7 separate regions of the Homo sapiens genome follow, and all the other regions are linked to region 7. The links are contacts of gene promoters, found by promoter capture Hi-C in blood cells and fetal thymus (Javierre and others, 2016). All regions are on one chromosome and are shown on one strand. The core of a region is centred on a gene start or on the middle of the fragment in contact, and the rest is flanking DNA. Distances in the headings are between cores, read along the strand shown. Region 1 overlaps NARS2 (asparaginyl-tRNA synthetase 2, mitochondrial). Region 2 overlaps GAB2 (GRB2 associated binding protein 2). Region 3 overlaps NARS2 (asparaginyl-tRNA synthetase 2, mitochondrial). Region 4 overlaps RSF1 (remodeling and spacing factor 1). Region 5 overlaps RSF1 (remodeling and spacing factor 1). Region 6 overlaps RSF1 (remodeling and spacing factor 1). Region 7 holds the start of THRSP (thyroid hormone responsive).

Region 1 (2,844 bases), core at 160-2,659, 370 kb after region 7:
GAGGGCAGTGGCCCGTTCTTTGCTTACCGTAACCTCGGCTCCCGGGTTCAAGTGATTCTCCTGCCTCAGCCTCCCAAGTAGCTGGGATTATAGGCGCCTGCCACCACGCCTGGCTAATTTTTGTATTTTTAGTAGAGATGGGGTTTCACCATGTTGTCCAGACTGGTCTGGAACTACTGACCTCAAGTGATCCGCCCGCCTCACCCTCCCAAAGTGCTGGAATTACAGGCGTGAGCCACCATGCCCAGCTGACCACACTACTTTTAACTCTAGAATTACCCATCCTTTAGGCTCAGCCAAACTCCCATCCTCATCTTGGATTGAAAATACCTTTCTTCCAAATTTTACTGGGAAAGGACCAAATGAAATTAAAAAATATATAACTTTTTTTCCATAGGTGTCTATTAAAAAAATCTATTTTATTAGACAAATTATAAACATCAAATATAAACAAATTATAACAACAGTGATTAAAGAGTTGAAATACTTAATGTAATATCTCAACAGCTTTGAAAATTGAAAAGCAACAGTTATTAAACATGATTTTTTCATCCAGTTCAATGAAAGGAGATTTCAATTCAGAATAGCTACTTCTTTAAATCAATTAAGACCTTAAGGAATATTTTTTTCTGCAATGTTTAATGAAGTACTGAAAATGAGATAAGGATTTATCACAAAGTATATGGCAAGGGAGAAAAGATGCAACATTATTTTATTTCGAGCTACTAGATGGTTCTCACAAATTACACAGGGAGTGATTTAATGATTATAGACAACGTAAAATACATTATCTCATTCTGTTTTAGAGTTTAAAAGAAACTTTGAGACTAATTCAATTTCTTCATTTCTTAATTGAGGTAATGGATTTGAGAGTCCCCTTGCTATAAGTACCTCTTCTTGCGGGAGCTCATCCTTACGTGAAATACCCTCAACTTTCTAAGAAAATCACAACCACTTATATTTTTTCTATGATATCTTATGGCACAACAATTACATATTGAAATCTGCATTTCTAAAATCCAAACATGCATTCTGCTGTATGCACAATCATGTGCAGTGTCTCTGCCATGGGGGGTGCTTTTCCTTAACCAATCTTCCAGCTATAAAAGGCATGAATGAGGAAACCTTGGGAAAGGGATAACATCTTTGATATTGTCAACACCCAAGATGCACTGCAGGTAGCGTTCAAATCCCATCCCAAAACCTCCATGTGGCACAGATCCAAATCGACGAAGGTCCAGATACCTGTTTTTCAAAAATAGAAAATCATCATCTATATATAGTATAAGACCAGATGTTATGATTAGAATTTAATGTTTCAAACGTATTTTGCAATCATTTGTTATTGTTTACCTCACTGTGATAGACCAGTCTTTCCCCTCCACAGACAGACAATGGAAAGGAAGAAGCTGAATAATCTATCCAAGGTTACCCAGAGAAACAGCAGTGGATCCTGTCATACAGTCATGGGCTTTGGTCCCTTTTCCTTTTTAAGCTATTATATTTATGCATTTATGACAGAAAACTTGCCTCAGGAGGCTACAGAAAATTTTCTATAGATTTACTAATTTTCTTGAAAATATACGCCTCTTTTATTTCTTGGTAGGTTAATCACAATGTTTTCTTTTCCTTCCCAAAATCATATTGTTCAATACACAGAGGAGAGTGCAGAGTTTTGCCTGTTACATTATGAAAAGATATCCTATAGATTAGATTATAAGCTACAACAGGGCAGGAACTGTGCTTCATTCAACTTTTTATCACCAGGGAGCTCTAGAGTAGGTGTTAATTACATGAAGTTTTGTTTGAAGGCACAAAAATATATGCTTGAATGCTGGAGTGAGGAGAAACCTTTAATTCTCTGCCTTAGGCCTAGTGAAGATGCCCAGAGTCATTTAGCTGACATGCTAGACAGCCTCTGAAACCCATCCACGCACATTCTTTTCCCACTAAAGACCACATGGCAAGACAATGGCACAGACATGACTGAAACTCAGATTCTAACACACCAGCACTGGAAAAAGTTTTAGGAAGAAAAGAGGAAAAGGGCAACTATAAATATTTTATTATGTCATTTTGTGGGGAAATTCTTGAGTTATATAATATTGATTAAAACAAGTTTATCGGCCGGGTGTGGTGGCTCATGCCTGTAATTCCAGCACTTTGGGAGGCCGAGGTGGGCGGATCACTAGCTCAGGAGTTCAAGGCCAGCACTGCCAAAGTGGTGATACCCCGTCTCTACTAAAAATAGGAAAATTAGCCAGGCGTAGTGGCGCCCGTCTGTAATCCCAGCTACTCAGGAGGCTGAGGCAGAGGAGTCGCTTGAACCTGGGAAGTGGAGGTTGCAGTGAGCAGAGATGGAGCCACTGCACTCCAGCCTGGGTGACAGAGTGAGATTCTGTATCAAAAAAAAAAAAAAGAAAGAAAAAAAAAAAAAGACAAAAACCAAGCAAGTTTATATTTTCTTGAATGATTTGTAAAATCAGTTCTATAATAAGACGTAAGCAACATAACTTGTAGCCACTTGGTTCCTCAGTCATAAAGACTGTCCATCAACCTATTTCCCCACCATTAATAATAATGGCTACATATACTGGTATTGCAAGGAGTTAAGTCTAAGCACTTATCTTTTTAAAGGAAAAGATTAACTCCAAACAGATGAGTTGTAATCAGGTAAGAGACCAACATTACAGGGATATCTAGTATAAAACTTCAGATTAGTAATAACTATAAGAAATAATGGGAGGCACATTCAGTTATTCAGTCTTGAATAACTGAAATGTTTAGTTGCTAAATTAACTTTAAAGTTTACGAGGCAGCGGGAAAGAGTACACTTTGACTCAG
Region 2 (2,939 bases), core at 38-2,537, 320 kb after region 7:
CACAAATCGAGTGTCTCAGTCCTGGGAGTGCTTGCAGGCACTTCCGGAGCTTCCATTATCATGAAGCAACTGAACCGCTTGAGGCTATCAACCAACTTCAGAAATTGTGCCATCAGTGGCTGAGGCCAGAGATCCACTCAAAAAAGCACATTTTGGAAATGCTGGTACTAGAGCACTTCCTGACCATCCTGCCAAAGGGGACCCAGAACTGGGTGCAGAAGCATCATCCACAGCTTGCCAAACAGGCCCTGGTCCTGGTGGAACGCTTGCAGAGAGAACCTGGTGGAACAAAGAATGAGGTCACAGCCCATGAGCTGGGAGAGGAGGCAGTGCTCTTGAGAGGAACAACAGTGGCCCCAGGCTTCAAGTGGAAGCCAGCAGAGCTCGAACCAATGGGTCTGTTCTAGAAAGAATACTGGAACACATACAGGGTACTACAAGAACAGCTGGGCTGGAATACTCAGAAAGAAACCCAGCCTGTATATGAAAGAGCTGTGCATGTTCAACAGATTTTAGCCCTTTCTGAGCACAAAAGCACCAAAGACTGGAAGATGGCACCTAAGCTCATCTGGCCTGAGTCCCAGAGTTTATTGACATTTGAAGACATGGCTGTGTACTTCTCTGAGGAAGAATGGCAATTATTAGGTCCTCTTGAGAAGACTCTCTACAATGATGTAATGCAGGATATCTATGAGACTGCCATCTCTCTAGGGTTAAAGCTAAAAAATGACAATGGAAATGACTATCCTATAATATCGGTTTCTGCACCTGAAATACAAACAGCAGGATACAAAGTATCAAAAAAGACCAGAATGAAAATTGCCCAGAAAACAAAGGACAGGGAAAATCATGGTGATACACACAGGGTATAGAAATGGCATCAAGCTTTTCCAAGGAAGAAAAGAAACTTACAACTTGTAAACAAGAGCTTCCAAAACTTATGGATCTTCACGGGAAAGGCCACACAGGAGAGAAACCTTTTAAATGTCAGGACTGTGGGAAAATCTTCAGAGTTAGCTCAGATCTTATTAAGCACCAGAGAATTCACACTGAAGAGAAACTCTATAAATGTCAACAATGTGACAGGAGGTTTAGATGGAGTTCAGGTCTTAATAAGCACTTCATGACACATCAAGGAATAAACCCATATAGATGCTCATGGTATGGGAAAAGCATTAGTTATGACACAAATCTACAAACACACCAAAGAATTCACACAGGAGAGAAGCCCTTTAAATGTCATGAATGTGGGAAAATATTCATTCACAAATCCAACCTTATTAAATACCAGAGAACTCACACAGGTGAGCAGCCTTATACTTGTAGCATATGCAGGAGAAACTTTAGTAGGCAGTTGAGCCTTCTTAGACACCAGAAACTCCACAGAAGATGGGAAGCATGTCCAATGTCTCCAAACTGAGGAAAGTTACCATGTAGAGATTGATTTTAGATGTGATGAAAGAATACAAAATTATGAGGCACCCAATGATAGGAATCTGTCATCAACAGAACATTTGGGAGGGGTACATATTATGCTTCACAAAAGTTATCTAACCTGTCTTATTCAGCATTGCATCTTTCATGCCTAGCACAAGACTGATACATAATTAGTATTTTATTAATAAAAAAATGAAAGTGTAGCTATGAGATATCTTTACCTGTCTATCTATACGTATGTATCTGGTTATTCAAAGCTTCCCCATCCCCAGTCAGTGCCTGAGATATATGATGGTCAAGACTCTTAGACTCATTCTTTATTCTTTGTCAGGAGAGATGGAAGGTAAGAGTACCTGGGCCCTCTCAAGGGAGTTCAGAGAGAATTACTAAGTTAGGGACAGTTTCAATAGCTATCATTCTATCTATGTGAACAATCAAACCCAGGACTCAGGGAACTTTATAACAGAAAGAGGATTCAGTGTTTGCCCTGGGAGAAGTGCCCCATTCTAGTTGCTTCTTTCCTGAGTACCCACTACCACAATGTCTTCTGTCAAGGAATTACAAGTAGCAAGGGAAGGTCTGGCTACAAGGACAGACCTAGGGACCCTGCAAGCACTTGATATCTCTTCTCTTGCTGACTCTGTCAACACAGACAACACAAAATGGAATGATGAAGGAGGCAGTCTTGGCCCTCATCCAGGTATCTGTTTCTTTGTAGAAAGTACACATAAGTAATGAAGGTCTTTTTCTGACTTTCATTATGTGCACTGGATGGAGGCTTTCAAACTGGTGCTACACTGCTGCAGGGCCTAAAGGGAGGCCTGTCCTTATGGCTGATCAGCTACAACCCTATATGCCTGAATACTCTGCAAGAAGGCCTGGAGGTTTTCCAAAACTGATTTATTGAGAATGGCAAGGAGGGCCCTGTGACCTCTTAGCCTTGGTGCACAGCTAATACCAGGAGGGAACATCCTGAAGTGTCAGAGCAAAGTAAGGCATGTGGCTTAGAGTAATGACCGCAGTCAGGGCCAGGCAAGATGTAAATTGTTTACTCATGTTATTGGTTTTCCTGTCTTCCCTACTGGCCAAAGTGACTATCTCTTACGAAGAGACAATGTGATGTCAAGGAAGTTGGAAGGCACGGATTTACATCTGGTTTATAAATGTTGGCCAAGCCTTCTATATATTTATTATTTCATAAAATTGTACTTTTAAATCAAAATGACATGTTTTGTTAGATTTAGACATTAAACAAAACGTTGTTACCAAAATAATGAATGAATGAATCAATCAATCAATGAATGAGGTGGGGACTCACTTTGTCACCCAGGCTGGAGTACAGTGGCTAGGTCATAGCTCACTGTAGCCTAGAGCTGCTAGGCTGAAGCAGTCCTTCTACTTTAGATTCCGTGTGAGCCCCCCACAATGGAATATCTTCTTTTTCTTTTCTTTCTTTTTAAAACTCTTCTTTTCCTCACACTGTATGACCTCTGAGGCTCCAA
Region 3 (2,772 bases), core at 122-2,621, 390 kb after region 7:
ATTACCAAGTCTCAGGTGTTTTTTTTTTTTTTAATGTAGCCTCATTCTGTCGCCTGGGCTGGAGTGCAGTGGCGTGATCTCGGCTCACTGCAACCTCCACCTCCCGGGTTCAAGCGATTCTCTTGCCTCAGCCTCCCAAGTAGCTGGGATTATAGGCACCTGCCACTACGCTCAGCTAATTTTTCGTATTTTTAGTAGAGACAGGTTTCACCATGTTGGCCAGGCTGGTCTCGAACTCCTGACCTTGTGATTTGCCTGCCTTGGCCTCCCAAAGTGCTGGGATCACAAGCATGAGCCACCGTGCCCAGCCAGTCTCAGGTATTTTTTTATAGCAACTTAGAGCAACTCTATTTCAGTAAAATGGACTAACACACAGACCACTGTTTATTCCTTCAGAATGTTTTAGGTTCATTTCTTTCTCTCCATTTTCACTGTTGAGATTATAAGCAAAAGTCCCATAATTATCTTATGTGTCTTTAATTCCCCCCTTCCCCAATCCATTCTATATGTCAGGTTAATTTTTTCATCTTGCCAGTATCTTAGAATACATACAATGCCTCTCTGTTTTTTACTGGATAAAGCCCAAGCTATCTGTAACACTCCAATCTCTCCATAATTGTTCCTATCTTGTCTAGCCATCTTTATCACCCAATAATTCCTTACTCCATTATTTTTATAGCATAGAATTTTAATTTTTAAAGCAATTTTAAAAACATTTGTTCATCTGATTTCCACAACAAACCTGTGATGATACAAGTGTGTAATTCCCTTTTAAAGTAAACTTAAAGTATAAAATATGTGTAAAAAGTACACAAATAACTAGTATACAGTTCTATAAATTTTCACAAACACACCATGAAGCACCATACGGATCAATAAACTGAACAATAGCAGTACCCCAAAAAAGTCCTCCTAAGGTCTTCTTTTAGTTACTACCCCTACCAAAAGTAACCTCTTTCCTGACCTCTATCACCAGAGATTGACTATGATCCCCTGAGAATACTGAGGACAAGAAAGATCAAGTGGTATATCCAGGAACAAAACCCAAGTCTCCTGGCTCTAAGTCCATAGCTCTTCCTGCCACCCCACACAAACTCTTCACTCCCAGAAAGATCAGGATTCTAATGAAGCTGCCATATATGCTGTATTTCTGCCTTTACAGCCTAGCTTCAATACCTGCTAGCGGTGTGATTTTGCATGAGTGACTATACTGCTGCACTGAGAGGTAGCAGCCTCATCTGTAAGAAAGGGATAAAAGTTAATTATCGGCACATACTCGATAAACATTATTGTTTTCTCTTTTGAATGTTTTAACGTTATGCTTGCCACACGGGTACTCAATAATAGATGTCAATTTGGAACGTCAAAAATTTAATCTTTGTTAATCTTTTCTTCCATTTTCCTCTGTCTACCATGTTTTAAGTAATCTCTAATCTTACAAAGTTAATCTTATTTAGTTAAGTGAGACAATATAAATAATTTCTCAACTCCCTAAATGTCTTTTCCTTGCTACTTTTAATAATGAAGATTCCTCGACACTCTTACTCTACCAAAAGACTTAGGAGGCATTTACGTTCACTTTTATCTCAGTTGCTTTAACCAAACTTGTTCAATTAAGACACACTGGGAAGACTGAAATGGGAGAAACAGTTTGGTAACAAAACCTTAGAAGTCTGTATCACACACATAAAAGGATTTCTCTTCCCTATGTTCCCTAACTCTACAATTCAAAGTATTAATATAAAATATGTCATGATAAAGAATCTCAAAGTATTTTACGACAGACTGAAATGGATACTTTCAATTTTGACAAAAATTTCTAGGATTCTCTTTAGTCCTAGATATGGGGAAAATTGGCAATTCCCTTCATCACTATTTCTGTTGGTTGGTGGCTCGAGCTATTTTGATGCAGGTTGGTTAATTAGCCACAGCTCTGGGAAATTTATTGCACACCCCTTGGCTGAGTATTCTCCTTTCTGAGTTGACTTCACAGTATGTACTTTACTGAATGCCCACTAATGCTGACCTTTCTCTGGTTTGCTAAGTAATACTGATATAATTTTGAAAATTAGAACACTACCTGGTGATTGTGGCATCTCATCAAGGACTGAGGGGCAGTCACTTTTTCCTAATTACACGTGTGTAGAATAAAAGACTATTCTTCTCTGTGAAGCCACTCCCCCAGCTGAACATCTGCCACCTGGCTTTGAGGGACTTACCTGGAGACCAGCCTCAGAGGCATATGGCATTTTGCATATTTGCTTAGATTCATTTTCCCATGATCTGTCCCTTTCAAATGATCAAATATGCTCAGTAATTTATAAGTTAGTCTTATCCATGCATATGAAGAAAAACTTAGGCTACAGGAAATCAGAGAATCTTAGAGAGGTAATACTTTAGAGGTCACTTAATCCAATTCTCTGATTATACAGAGGGAGAAATTGAGGCTGAAAGATCACAGAGACTTGCCTGAGGTGACACAGGTAACTAGTAAGGTATCTAGATTTCAAACCCAGAACCACTCTGCATCCTGTGTACTTTTCAGTACACCACAGCGCATACCTTCATTTCTACTGAGAGGTGGGGAGAAAGGAAGATAAATTATAACTGTAAAAACATACCATTTTACTATTTATTACCCTCTGGCCAAAAGTTACAAGTGTAGATTAGATATTTCCCCATCCTTCTCTTTTGGTTCCCTAAAGAAGGCACCTATGAAACACACCTGTCTTATTTTTTTCAAGACTGCACTGCATCCATTACAGGAACTCT
Region 4 (2,700 bases), core at 15-2,514, 330 kb before region 7:
ATACCTCATTGTGGTTTTAATTGGAAATTCTACAATGAATAATGATGCTAAGCACTTTTTCATATGAATACTGGCTATATATATATATATTCTTTATGAAGTAACTGCTTAATAGTCTGCATATAACTTTATCTTCCTTAGTATACTTGGTACAAAAGTACTTTCTGTAGTCCCACTAAGATCCTGAAGAAGCTTGTGATGGAATCTGGTCTATGGTCTTTATTTGCTAAAATTCTCTAATCATTAATAACCAAACACTACCACCTTGTTATGTTTACATCTTTGATTTTTTTTTTTTTTTTTTTTGAGACACAGGGTCTCACTCTGTTGCCCAGGCTAGAGTGCAGTGGTACAATCACAGTTCACTGCAGCCTCAAGCTCCTGTGCTCAAGCAATCCTCCCACCTCAGCCTCTCAAGTCACTGAGACTACAGGCAAGTGCCACCACACCTTGCTGATTTTTGTATTTGTTGTAGAGACAGGGTTTCATCAAGTTGCCTAGGCAGGTCTCCAACTGCTGGGTTCAAGCAAACTGCTCACCTGGGCCTCCCAAAGTGCTGAGGTTATAGGTGTGAGCCATCATGCTGAGCCCATCTTTTTCATTCCTAAACAAATTCTATTGACATACCCCATGGAGTGAATAAAATCACTTATTACATCATATTTGATTAGATGTAAAATTTTTTTTTCTGTACTTTTATCTTCTTTCATTGAGGCCTAAAGATGAAATAATGCTTTTGTGGCAATTCTGTTTTAAACATTAACTGGAATAAGTAGGACACTGGCTGGAGCTTAAACATTTTTGCTATTGAAACCTGTTATAATACTTGATTGAGCCATATGAAATCACCATTTTTATAGGTCAAAATGTTCAAATGTTAACAATTTCATATGGTTTAATGAAACTTAACTACTTCTATTGTTTTGTAAATCACATACTAAATCTTGTTTCAACTTAAAGTATAATTATATATAAGTTAATTGCTTCCTATCTATTCATCTAATACATATATTTATATTATTATTATTACTTTTTTTGGGGGGGGGTACCAAATTTCTTCATCTGAAGGAATGGCACAAATCAAAGAACTTAGGTGGATGTTTTGGTACAACTTATAGAAAAGGTAAAGGAAACCCCAACATGCATGCACTGCCTTGGTGACCAGGGAAGTCACCCCACGGCTACGGGGAAATTAGCCGAGGCTTAGCTTTCATTATCACTGTCTCCCAGGGTGTGCTTGTCAAAGAGATATTCTGCCAAGCCAGATTCGAGTGCTCCCATCTTGTGCAAGTTGGTCACATGGTCATCCAATTCTTTGATGGCTTTCACCTGCTCATTCAGGTAATGTGTCTCAATGAAGTCACACAAATGGGGGTCATTTTTGTCAGTGGCCAATTTGTGCAGTTCCAGTAGTGACTGATTCACATTTTTTTCCAAATGTAATGCACACTCCATCACATTCAGCCCGCTCTCCCAGTCATCACAGTCTGGTTTTTTGATATCCTGAAGGAAGATTCGGCCACCTCGTTGGTTCTGCAGCTTCATCAGTTTCTCAGCATGCTCCCTCTCCTCATGAGATTGGTGAAGAAAGTATTTGGCAAAGTTCTTCAAAGCCACATCATCACGGTCAAAGCAGTAAGACATGGACAGGTAAACGTAGGAGGCACAGAGCTCTAGGTTGATCTGGCGGTTGATGGCGGCCTCTGAGTCCTGGTGGTAGTTCTGGCGCACCTGTGAGGTGGACGTGGTCCTCATGGCGGCGACTAAGGAGAGGTGGCGGCGGTGGCAGTGGCTGCGTGGCGCTGGGGCGGCGGCAGGGGCCTTGGGGCGGTCTGAGGGTGCCGTGAAGAGGTGAGGGAGGGCTGGCTATGGGCGGCCGGCTGGGGTGGGGGACGAGCACCGGGTTCCGTCCAAGCACTGTTGAAGCAGGAAACCCCGACGACTCTCGGCAAAGAACGTCTCTATATTTATATTATTAATTTTGCAACTTGCAGAAATGGAAGTTGCTACGTAACAGTACAAGTTTTAAGACTGTGGTGATGTCATGGTATGAAATTTTCAGTAGATCAACTATGTAAAATTATCCCTTTTTGGTGGATTCTCATTTTTTAAAAATTCCATTTGATGTTTAATTTGCAAAGTTCAGTTATATTTCTAAATTTATCAATCATTAAGAAGGCTGACTTATTAGCTTTAGAAAACGGAACCCTAAAGACTAGATAACTTTTGTTATATAATCCTCTTTTAAGAATTAGGTAGAAACACGTTTCCAACACCAGCCGATCACCAAGAAAATAATACTGTTACTTTAAAGAAATTGTTTTAAGAAAAAACAAGAAGCTTTTAATTTACTAGTAAAAAATAATACTTACTAGCTAAGAAAAGCACCTAAATGCAACCTATTAAATGAAAAAGTCAAAGTCAAAATCTCATTTGCTTTACTTGTTCTTCCCTTATCACTTAATTTTCTTTTTTCTTCTTTTTTGAGATGGAGGCCGCTCTGTTGTCGCCAGGCTGGAGTGCAGTGGCGCAATCTTGGCTCACTGCAACCTCTGCCTACTGGGTTCAAGTGATTCCCCTGCCTCAGCCTTCCGAGTAGCTGGGACTACAGGCACACGCCACAATGCCAGCTAATTTTTGTATTTTTAGTAGAGACGGAGTTTCACCATGTTGGCCAGGATGGTCTCGATATCTTGACCT
Region 5 (2,700 bases), core at 11-2,510, 380 kb before region 7:
TAGCCTGTCCTGGCTTTTTTTTTTTTTTTTTTAATTATTTTTATTTATTTATTTTTGAGACGGAGTCTCTCTTTGTTGCCAGGCTGGAGTGCAGTGGCGCCATCTCGGCTCACTGCAACCTCTGCCTCCCGGGTTCAAGGGATTCTCCAGCCTCAGCCTCCCGAGTAGCTGGGACTACAGACGCGTGCCACCAAACCCAGCTAATTTTTGTACTTTTAGTAGAGACAGGGTTTCATCATGTTGGCCAGAATGGTCTCGATCTCGACCTCGTGATCTGCCCGCCTCAGTCTCCCAAAGTGCTGGGATTACAGGCGTGAGCCACCGCACCCAGCTGTCCTTTTATTTTTAAAGATTACCTTTAGCAGATGTCTGTTACTGTCTGATTGTTTATGTCCCCTCAAAATCCCCATGTTGAAATATTAAATCTCAAGGTGATGGTATTAGGAGGTGGGGTCTTTGGCAGAGCCCTCATGTATAAGATTAGTGCCCATATAAAAGAAGCCAGAGAGAGACCCTTTGTTTCTTCCACCATATGGGGTTACAGTGAGAAGATGGCCATCTATGAAGGAGCAGGCCTTCACTAGGCATCGGGTCTACCCTAAAAACTCCCCTCATCCCTTCCGTGATTAAGAACACCCTAGAAGGTGCCATCTATGAACCAGAAAGCAGGCCCTCACCAGACAGCATACCTGCCAGTATCTTGACCTTGGACCTCCTAGTTTCTAGAACCGCAAGAAATAAATTTCTGTTGATTATAGGCTATCCAGTTTACGGTTACTTTCTGATAGCAGCCAAATTAGACTGAGGCAATGTCAGCAAAAATTTTTATAAAGGGCCAGATGGTAAATATTTTAGGCTTTTCAGACAATGCAGTCTCTGTTGTAACTACTCAACTCTGCTATTGTAGTGCAAAGCAGCTACGGACAACATGTAAGTAAATGATACAGACGTGTTTCAATAAAACTTTATGAGCATTAAAATTTGAATTATAGGTAATTTCCATATAATTTTCACAGGATATCATTTTTCTTTTGATCCTTTTCTTCAAACATTTATAAAAACCACTTTGAGGTCACGTTGTACAAAAACTAGAAGTGAGCTGAATTTGGCCCACAGGCCATAATTTGCCAACTCCTAATTATACAAATCACATGGCAAAGTAAGTAAAACAAAATTACAGTTCCATAAATACTATTAAGTCCTAATAATATGTCTGGGCACAGTGGCTTACATCTGTAATCTCAGCACTTTGGGAGGCCAAGGCAGGCAGATCACTTGAGCCCAGGAGTTCAAGACCAGCTTGGGCAACATGGTGAACCCCTGTCTCTATAAAGAATACAAAAAATTAGCTGGGTGTGTGGTGCGTGCCTGTAGTTCCAGCTACTTGGGGGGCCGAGACAAGAGGATTGCTTGAGCCCAAGAGGCAGAGGATGAAGTAAGCCGAGAATGCACCACTGCACTCCAGCCTGGGGGACAGAGCGAGACCCTGTCTCAAAAAAAAAAAAAAGAAAAGAAAAAGAGTCCCAATAATAGGGCTATATTATTACTGCTATTGAAAATTATATTATAACTGAAATTCATACACAAATGGTTAAAATTTTAGAACTAGGTAAAAGTATTTCTTGAAGCTGTTTACCTTGACTTAAAGAAAAGGATCAAGACTAAAGGATTCCTAAGATTTCTTCACATATAAAATGCCTTTTACTTCAGGGCTCAGCCAAAAGGATGAAGTAACTTGTTTAAATCTACGCTAAAAATGGTAATTACTAGCCTGTGTGGCTATTTATATTTAAATTCATTAAAATTTAAAATTCTGTTCCTCACTAGACATAATTCAAGTATTCAATAGTCACATATGGCTATGGCCACCATATCAGACATCAAAGAAATAGATTCTATTTCCATCACCAGAGTATATTATATTGAAGAGGGTGGGATTACGGGCACACAATGGATTAACAACAGCATCAAAACTAAAAGCTAGGGCTGGGTGCAGTGGCTCAGCACTCTTGGGAGGCTGAGGCAGGAGTATAACTTGAGCCCAGGAGGTTGAGACCAATCTGGGCTATATGGTGAGACCCTGTATCTACAAAAATAAAAAATTAAAAAAATTAGCCAGGTGTGGTGATGTGTGCCTGTAGTCCTAGCACTCTGGGAAGCTGAGGCAATAGGACTGCTTGTGGATAGGAGTTCGAGGCCGCAGTGAGCTGTGATCATGCCACTGCACTCCAGCCTGTGTGACAGAGTGAAATCCTGTCTCAAAAAAAGAAAAAAGACTAAAAGCTGGAGGCTGGAAGTGGCTGTATACACCCATAGTCCCAACTATTTGGGAGGCTGAGGCAGTAGGATGGCTTGAGCCCAGGAGTTGGGAGTCCAGTCTAGGCAACATAACAAGACCCCGTCTCTAAAAACTAAACATCCTGCCTTCTGAGTTAGAATATATAATTTCAAAGGACTCACAAATTTCAGATGGAGAGCTCTTCTTTTACAATGTAATTTTTACTGGCTGCATAGTATCTCACCTTACAGATGTATCATATTTAGTTAAAACAGTTTATTTCCAATTTTTCACAATTGCAATATTATGAGAAACATTCTTGTAGCTGCAGTGTGGATTTGTCTTAAGTTCTGAGAAAGTAAAACTCAGCACATCCATTCACTAGGGTAGAATAGCAGATACATATAAAGCCAGATGCCAGA
Region 6 (2,807 bases), core at 202-2,701, 360 kb before region 7:
TGATGTTGCAAATAAAAAAGCCAAGAACCATTTAGAACCATTCAGTGTCTGAGAGTTAAGCAACTGTAATCAGTATTTCTTCCTTCTTTACAAAGTCAGTGCCATAGGGAATGCTGCTAAAATATTTCAAGAGATGAGAGTAAAAAAAAATTTCAAAAATTCAAAATATAAAAGTCCTACAGCATAAATAAGGTAAGAAAAAAACAGAGATGACAGTAATTACCTAAGTTGCATGTTTTCTCTTTCCCACTGATAAAACAGGTTTAATAAATTCTCATTTATTGAGATTAGCTAGTATATCAGGAAATTTAACTAAATGAACACCTTGTTTAACGGTTAAAATACTGATTACTATCTTTAAAAATAACTTCAACTGCCACGTGCAATGGCTCACGCCTTTAATCCCAGCACTTTGGGAGGCCAAGTTGGGTGGATCGCTTGAGCTCAGGAGTTTGAGACCAGCCTGGACAGCATGGTGAAACTCTGTCTCTACAAAAAATACAAAAAGTAGCCGGGGCATGGTGGTGTGTGCTTGTAGTTCCAGCTACTGGGTAGGCTGAGGTGGAAGGATCACTGGAGCCCAGGAGTTCAAGGTTAACCCTGATCCCTGATCATGCCACCACATTCCAGCCTGGATACATTCCAGCCTGGGTGACAGAGTGAGATCCTGTCTCAAAAAATAGAAACAAACAAACAAAACAAAAAAACCTTCAACCCAATACTAAGTGTGGCTAAACACAAGTTAATATTTTTTATCCCTATTCTATGGTTCAGAAAGTATCTAAAGATTTCATCATGACCCTGATCCAACGTAAAATTAAGTTTCTCAGTTTCTTCAGATTTCTCCATGTTTTCATTCGAAGGTAACTGATCTTGGTTTGAGTAACAACATAGCAAAATAAAACAAGAAATGACATTAGGTTCAAGATTCCCAGGTTCACTAACACTAATTTAGCTAGTGATGCATCTTTGGGTGTGTCACAAACTCACTGATCTTTCTTCATCTATAAATAAAGCAGCTGGACTAAATAACCTCAACTATTATTCTTCGCTGGTGTCATATTTCTTTTATTCTAAAAATGTTAAATTCTTTGGTTTTTTGTGTGTTTGCCTTGGTTTTTTTTTTTTTTTTGAGACGAAGTTTCGCTCTTGTTGCCCAGGCTGGAGTGCAATGGCATGATCTCAGCTCACCACAACCTCCGTCTCCTGGGTTCAAGCGATTCTCTTGCCTCAGCCTCCCAGTAGCTGGGATTACAGGCATGCACCACTACGCCCGGCTAATTTTGTATATTTAGTAGAGGCGGGGTTTCTCCATGTTGGTCAGGCGGGTCTCGAACTCCTGACTGCAGGTGATCCGCCCACCTTGGCCTCCCAAAATGCTGGGATTACAGGTGTGAGCCACCATGCCTGGCCGGCTTGGTTCTTTTAAGAGAAAAAAATGACAACAATTAATATTCTAGCTCCTCTAAATTAAATAAATATGTTTCCAAAATAGTGTAGAGGAAGGAAGAACTAGGACAGAATATGAACCTTTAAGCACTATAATAATTAGTAAAAAGGTCAGTTACACAAGCATTTTCCCAAAGTTTGTCAAAAGAAAGTTGTAAAAGAGCACATAAATGAGTTTAAAAGGCATAAAATTTGAAGTGACCAAAGGAAAAATTCACTCCAAAAATTGAAACACAGCATCACATTTCTTCACAAATGAGGTGACTCAAGAGAAGTGGTAGCTACTGTGGGTTTTTAAAGGTGATTCATTCATTTACTCAACAAATATTTATTGATCACTTATTATGTGCTTTCTCCACCACCCCTAGCAGAATCACTCTGTAATGATACATTGAATATTCTATAAAAGTTAACAGTAGAAGACACTGAGTTGCCTGCCGATTATCTATTCTCCTCTTCCTTTTTACAAACAGAACTTATTTTGTTCAGGAAGGCACTTGCCTCCTCAAACACCTTAAAGCTGTGAGTCATGTGATCCAGTTATGACCAATGACATGTATGAGGAAGTCGTGGGTGAGAAGGGAGTCAGCTGACTGGTGCCTTTTGCCCTTTTCCCTTCTTTGGGTCCAGATTCTATACACAATACCTGGAGAAGGAGCTGTGGTCCCAGCTACGTGGGAGGATTGCTTGAGCCCAGGAAGTCAAGGCTGTAGTGAGCTATGACTCACTACATTCTTGTTGGTGCGACAAAGCAAGACCCTGTCTCAAAAAAAAACCAAAAAAACAAAAAAACCCAACAAACCAACAAAAAAACCCACCACACAAATAAAATGTTGGATATACAAGTGTTTTATACTATTTTTTATTTGAACTATTTCATTAAAAATTAAGACTCTCAGCCAGGTGCAGTGGCTTACGCCTGTAATCCCAGCACTTTGGGAGGCTAAGGTGGGCAGATCACAAAGGTCAACACGGTGAAACCCTGTCTCTACTAAAGATACAAAATTAGCAGGGTGGGGTGGTGTGAGCCTGTAGTCCCAGCTACTCGAGAGGCTGAGGCAGGAAAATGGCTTGAACCCGGGAGGCAGAGGCTGCAGTGAGCTGAGATTGCCCCACTGCACTCCAGCCTGGCGACAGAGTGAGACTCTGTCTCCAAAAAAAAAAAAAAAAAAAATTAAGACTCTCAAAGAGTCAGACAAACCTTAACGCTCTTGTGTCACCTCCACCTTGGCCAGCTGTGGGACCTTTAGAAAATTACTTGAAACTTTCTAAGTCTCTTTAGACTCTAAGCTCTTTAAAACTGAAACATAAATATCTATACCTCAAGGAGGAGCTGTGAGGATTTTTTTTTCTTTTTA
Region 7 (2,700 bases), core at 79-2,578:
GGTCTCGATCTCCTGACCTCGTGATCCACCCGCCTGGGCTTCCCAAAGTGCTGGGATTACAGGCGTGAGCCACTGCGCCCGGCCATTTTCTTAAATATCTAATAAAAAATATATAGCAAATGCAGTTTGTAAACTATGACAATATGACCACGCAAAAGATTATTATCTTCCAAGACTGCTGGTCCAAGGAAAGGTCAGTAATAAAGTGGAAGCATTGTAGCTTATGGAATGACTGGTTAGATTTGGGAGAAGCCTTAGCAATAATCTAGAATCTGCATAGATAATACATCTGAGGATTGGGCTTTGTGGTTTACAAAGCATTTTTTTTCCTCTTTTGATCCCAGCCGCTTGTCTGGACTGATACAAAGCATTTTTATTAGTTTGTCTTATTCAATCCTCACACCACCTCAAATTTACAGAGGATATGGATCTGGTTAACTTGTATGACTATGTAACCTCATGTCAGTCCACAGCACTGCCTGGAGGTGGGTAGAGGTGGTCCTGGGCTGGAATCCCAGCCCCAGTGGGACCTTGAGCAAGTTACTTTAGCTGTCTGCACCTAAATTTCCTCACTGGCAAAACAGGAATACTGGTGGTTCACACCTGCAATTCCAGCACTTTGGGAGGCTGAGGTGGGAGGATTGCTTGAGTCCAGAAGTTCAAAACCAGACTGGGCAACATAGCAAGACCATCTCTACAAAAATTAAATAAATAAAACATTTACAAGGGTTGTGGTGAAGATTAAATGAGATCACTCACGAAAAAGCTCAGCAGACCCTGATGTGCAGTAGGTGCTCAATAAATGTTAGCCAGCAAAAAACAAACAAAAAAAAACTCAGCTAGGAAATTGCAGTACTGGGCTTCTGACTCCAACCTCAGTGTTCCTTGCCCCACATCAAGCTGTTTCACTTCAAATCCTCTCCATTTCACAATGGAGTCACCCCAGGTTGAAGGAGTGAACTGTGCTTTGGAGGGCTGCCCTAAGCAGGCAGCAAAGAGACAGCTTGGTCTCCAGTGACCTGAAAGAATTATTTATTGCCCTGAAGTCCAGTATACCAGTTGCCAAAGGGAAAAGCTTCCTTCCAACTGGCTCAGCAAGCTGACAGAGGAAGAGTCGGGTTCTTGCTGGGGCAGTCATGCAGAGCTGGGATGACAAGTAGAAGGCTGGCAGATCTGTCTCTGGGCAGATGGATCACCTGATACAGATGCTGGGGCCTGAGCCCTGGGATTGGCCCAAAACAGGGCTGTGTTGACCCAACAGCTGGGCATTGGCATCCTGTCAATCTGCCGAGAGCCTAGAAATAGTGCGGGGGCAGTCTGCTGGTCTCATTGTGTCAGAGGAAGCAACCATGCAGGTGCTAACCAAGCGTTACCCCAAGAACTGCCTGCTGACCGTCATGGACCGGTATGCAGCCGAGGTGCACAACATGGAGCAGGTGGTGATGATCCCCAGCCTTCTGCGGGACGTGCAGCTGAGTGGGCCTGGGGGCCAGGCCCAGGCTGAGGCCCCTGATCTCTACACCTACTTCACCATGCTCAAGGCCATCTGTGTGGATGTGGACCATGGGCTGCTGCCGCGGGAGGAGTGGCAGGCCAAGGTGGCAGGCAGCGAAGAGAATGGAACCGCAGAGACAGAGGAAGTCGAGGACGAGAGTGCCTCAGGAGAGCTGGACCTGGAAGCCCAGTTCCACCTGCACTTCTCCAGCCTCCATCACATCCTCATGCACCTCACCGAGAAAGCCCAGGAGGTGACAAGGAAATACCAGGAAATGACGGGACAAGTTTGGTAGACCTTGGACACTAGGGAAGGTAATGGTGGCCATGCTGGTGGGTGTGAGTCTACAAAGGGACATTCCAGGAGAGGAGAGGGGGCAGTGGTGCAACCCACTGGGAGAGGAACAGCCTGACTTTCAGACAGAGCCACTCTTGGGTCAGGGTATTGGGACCACAACCTAGGAGGGCCTAAGACTAGGCCTGTGTTACTATCCTTCTGACCTCAAATTGGCAATTGCAATGAAGTGATATGGAAACAGAGGGAAAAGTGGCCTGTGAGGGCATATCTCATATGCACATATATGTGTTTGTGCATGTGTGCATTTATTAGTATGTGAATGCTTGTAAATGTGTGAATTGAATGAGTGTGTTCTCATCAGTGACTTTGTTAAGAATTTAATTGAAGAGGGGCCAGGCGCGGTGGCTCACACCAAAGCACTTTGGGAGGCCGAGGCGGGCGGATCATGAGGCCAGGAGATTGAGACCATCCTGGCTAACATGGTGAAACCCAATCTCTACTAAAAATACAAAAAATTAGCTGGGCGTGGTGGTGGGTGCCTGTAGTCCCAGCTACTCGGGAGGCTGAGGCAGGAGAATGGCATGAACCTGGGAGGCAGAGGTTGCAGTGAGCTGAGATTGTGCCACTGCACTCCAGCCTAGGTGACAGAGGGAGACTCCATCTCAAAAAAAAAAAAAAAACTTACCTAAGGCATGCACATTGATTTAAGTGAACATTGTGAATTCCATTTGTGTGACAGTGTTTCCCAACATTTTTTCAAGTCACAGAACATGGAAAATTATTATATGGCACATGGGGATACATAGGTGAGGCTGCTTGCAGTACTGCTACAACAGGCTGGGGGTACTCTGACCATCCCAGGTTGGAACCCACCAAACGGGAAGCCGAGGGACCAGTCATGGCACTCT

Evidence for each region. The method cuts DNA at HindIII sites, captures the fragments that hold promoters and counts their contacts. A CHiCAGO score of 5 or more calls a contact.
Region 1: a contact is called between a fragment that was not itself captured here and the fragment with the promoter of THRSP in region 7, in 4 of 17 cell types (activated CD4 T cells, M2 macrophages, total CD4 T cells and 1 more). The highest score is 6.9, in activated CD4 T cells.
Region 2: a fragment that was not itself captured here is called in contact with the fragment with the promoter of THRSP in region 7 in 2 of 17 cell types (activated CD4 T cells and non-activated CD4 T cells); the score reaches 5.5 in activated CD4 T cells.
Region 3: a fragment that was not itself captured here is called in contact with the fragment with the promoter of THRSP in region 7 in 1 of 17 cell types (activated CD4 T cells); the score reaches 5.9 in activated CD4 T cells.
Region 4: a contact is called between a fragment that was not itself captured here and the fragment with the promoter of THRSP in region 7, in 2 of 17 cell types (endothelial precursors and non-activated CD4 T cells). The highest score is 7.5, in endothelial precursors.
Region 5: a fragment that was not itself captured here is called in contact with the fragment with the promoter of THRSP in region 7 in 1 of 17 cell types (erythroblasts); the score reaches 5.3 in erythroblasts.
Region 6: a contact is called between a fragment that was not itself captured here and the fragment with the promoter of THRSP in region 7, in 1 of 17 cell types (erythroblasts). The highest score is 5.9, in erythroblasts.

The regions. Positions count from the first base shown.
Region 1 is chr11:78,435,570-78,438,413 of GRCh38, forward strand. NARS2 (asparaginyl-tRNA synthetase 2, mitochondrial) reads right to left here. Exons shown (of 14, transcript NM_024678.6): 14 at 399-1,245. The coding sequence ends at 1,101. Among named protein-coding and RNA genes, the nearest start is that of LINC02728, 7.2 kb to the left of the region's middle. The HindIII fragment of the contact is 4,868 bases long and covers 1-2,844 here.
Region 2 is chr11:78,384,320-78,387,258 of GRCh38, forward strand. All of the region lies in intron 1 of GAB2 (GRB2 associated binding protein 2), which reads right to left. It also overlaps the pseudogene ZNF75CP. Among named protein-coding and RNA genes, the nearest start is that of GAB2, 32 kb to the right of the region's middle. The HindIII fragment of the contact is 809 bases long and covers 884-1,692 here.
Region 3 is chr11:78,454,607-78,457,378 of GRCh38, forward strand. The region is part of intron 11 of NARS2 (asparaginyl-tRNA synthetase 2, mitochondrial); the gene reads right to left. Among named protein-coding and RNA genes, the nearest start is that of LINC02728, 26 kb to the left of the region's middle. The HindIII fragment of the contact is 2,929 bases long and covers 1-2,772 here.
Region 4 is chr11:77,733,272-77,735,971 of GRCh38, forward strand. The region is part of intron 4 of RSF1 (remodeling and spacing factor 1); the gene reads right to left. It also overlaps the pseudogene FTH1P16. Among named protein-coding and RNA genes, the nearest start is that of RSF1-IT1, 5.1 kb to the right of the region's middle. The HindIII fragment of the contact is 2,148 bases long and covers 191-2,338 here.
Region 5 is chr11:77,678,180-77,680,879 of GRCh38, forward strand. The region is part of intron 11 of RSF1 (remodeling and spacing factor 1); the gene reads right to left. Among named protein-coding and RNA genes, the nearest start is that of CLNS1A, 42 kb to the left of the region's middle. The HindIII fragment of the contact is 4,778 bases long and covers 1-2,700 here.
Region 6 is chr11:77,703,638-77,706,444 of GRCh38, forward strand. The region is part of intron 5 of RSF1 (remodeling and spacing factor 1); the gene reads right to left. Among named protein-coding and RNA genes, the nearest start is that of RSF1-IT1, 35 kb to the right of the region's middle. The HindIII fragment of the contact is 5,156 bases long and covers 1-2,807 here.
Region 7 is chr11:78,062,533-78,065,232 of GRCh38, forward strand. It overlaps THRSP (thyroid hormone responsive), which reads left to right and starts at 1,329. Exons shown (of 2, transcript NM_003251.4): 1 at 1,329-1,809. The coding sequence starts at 1,350. The coding sequence ends at 1,790. All of the region lies in intron 1 of NDUFC2-KCTD14 (NDUFC2-KCTD14 readthrough), which reads right to left. The HindIII fragment of the contact is 4,485 bases long and covers 1,074-2,700 here.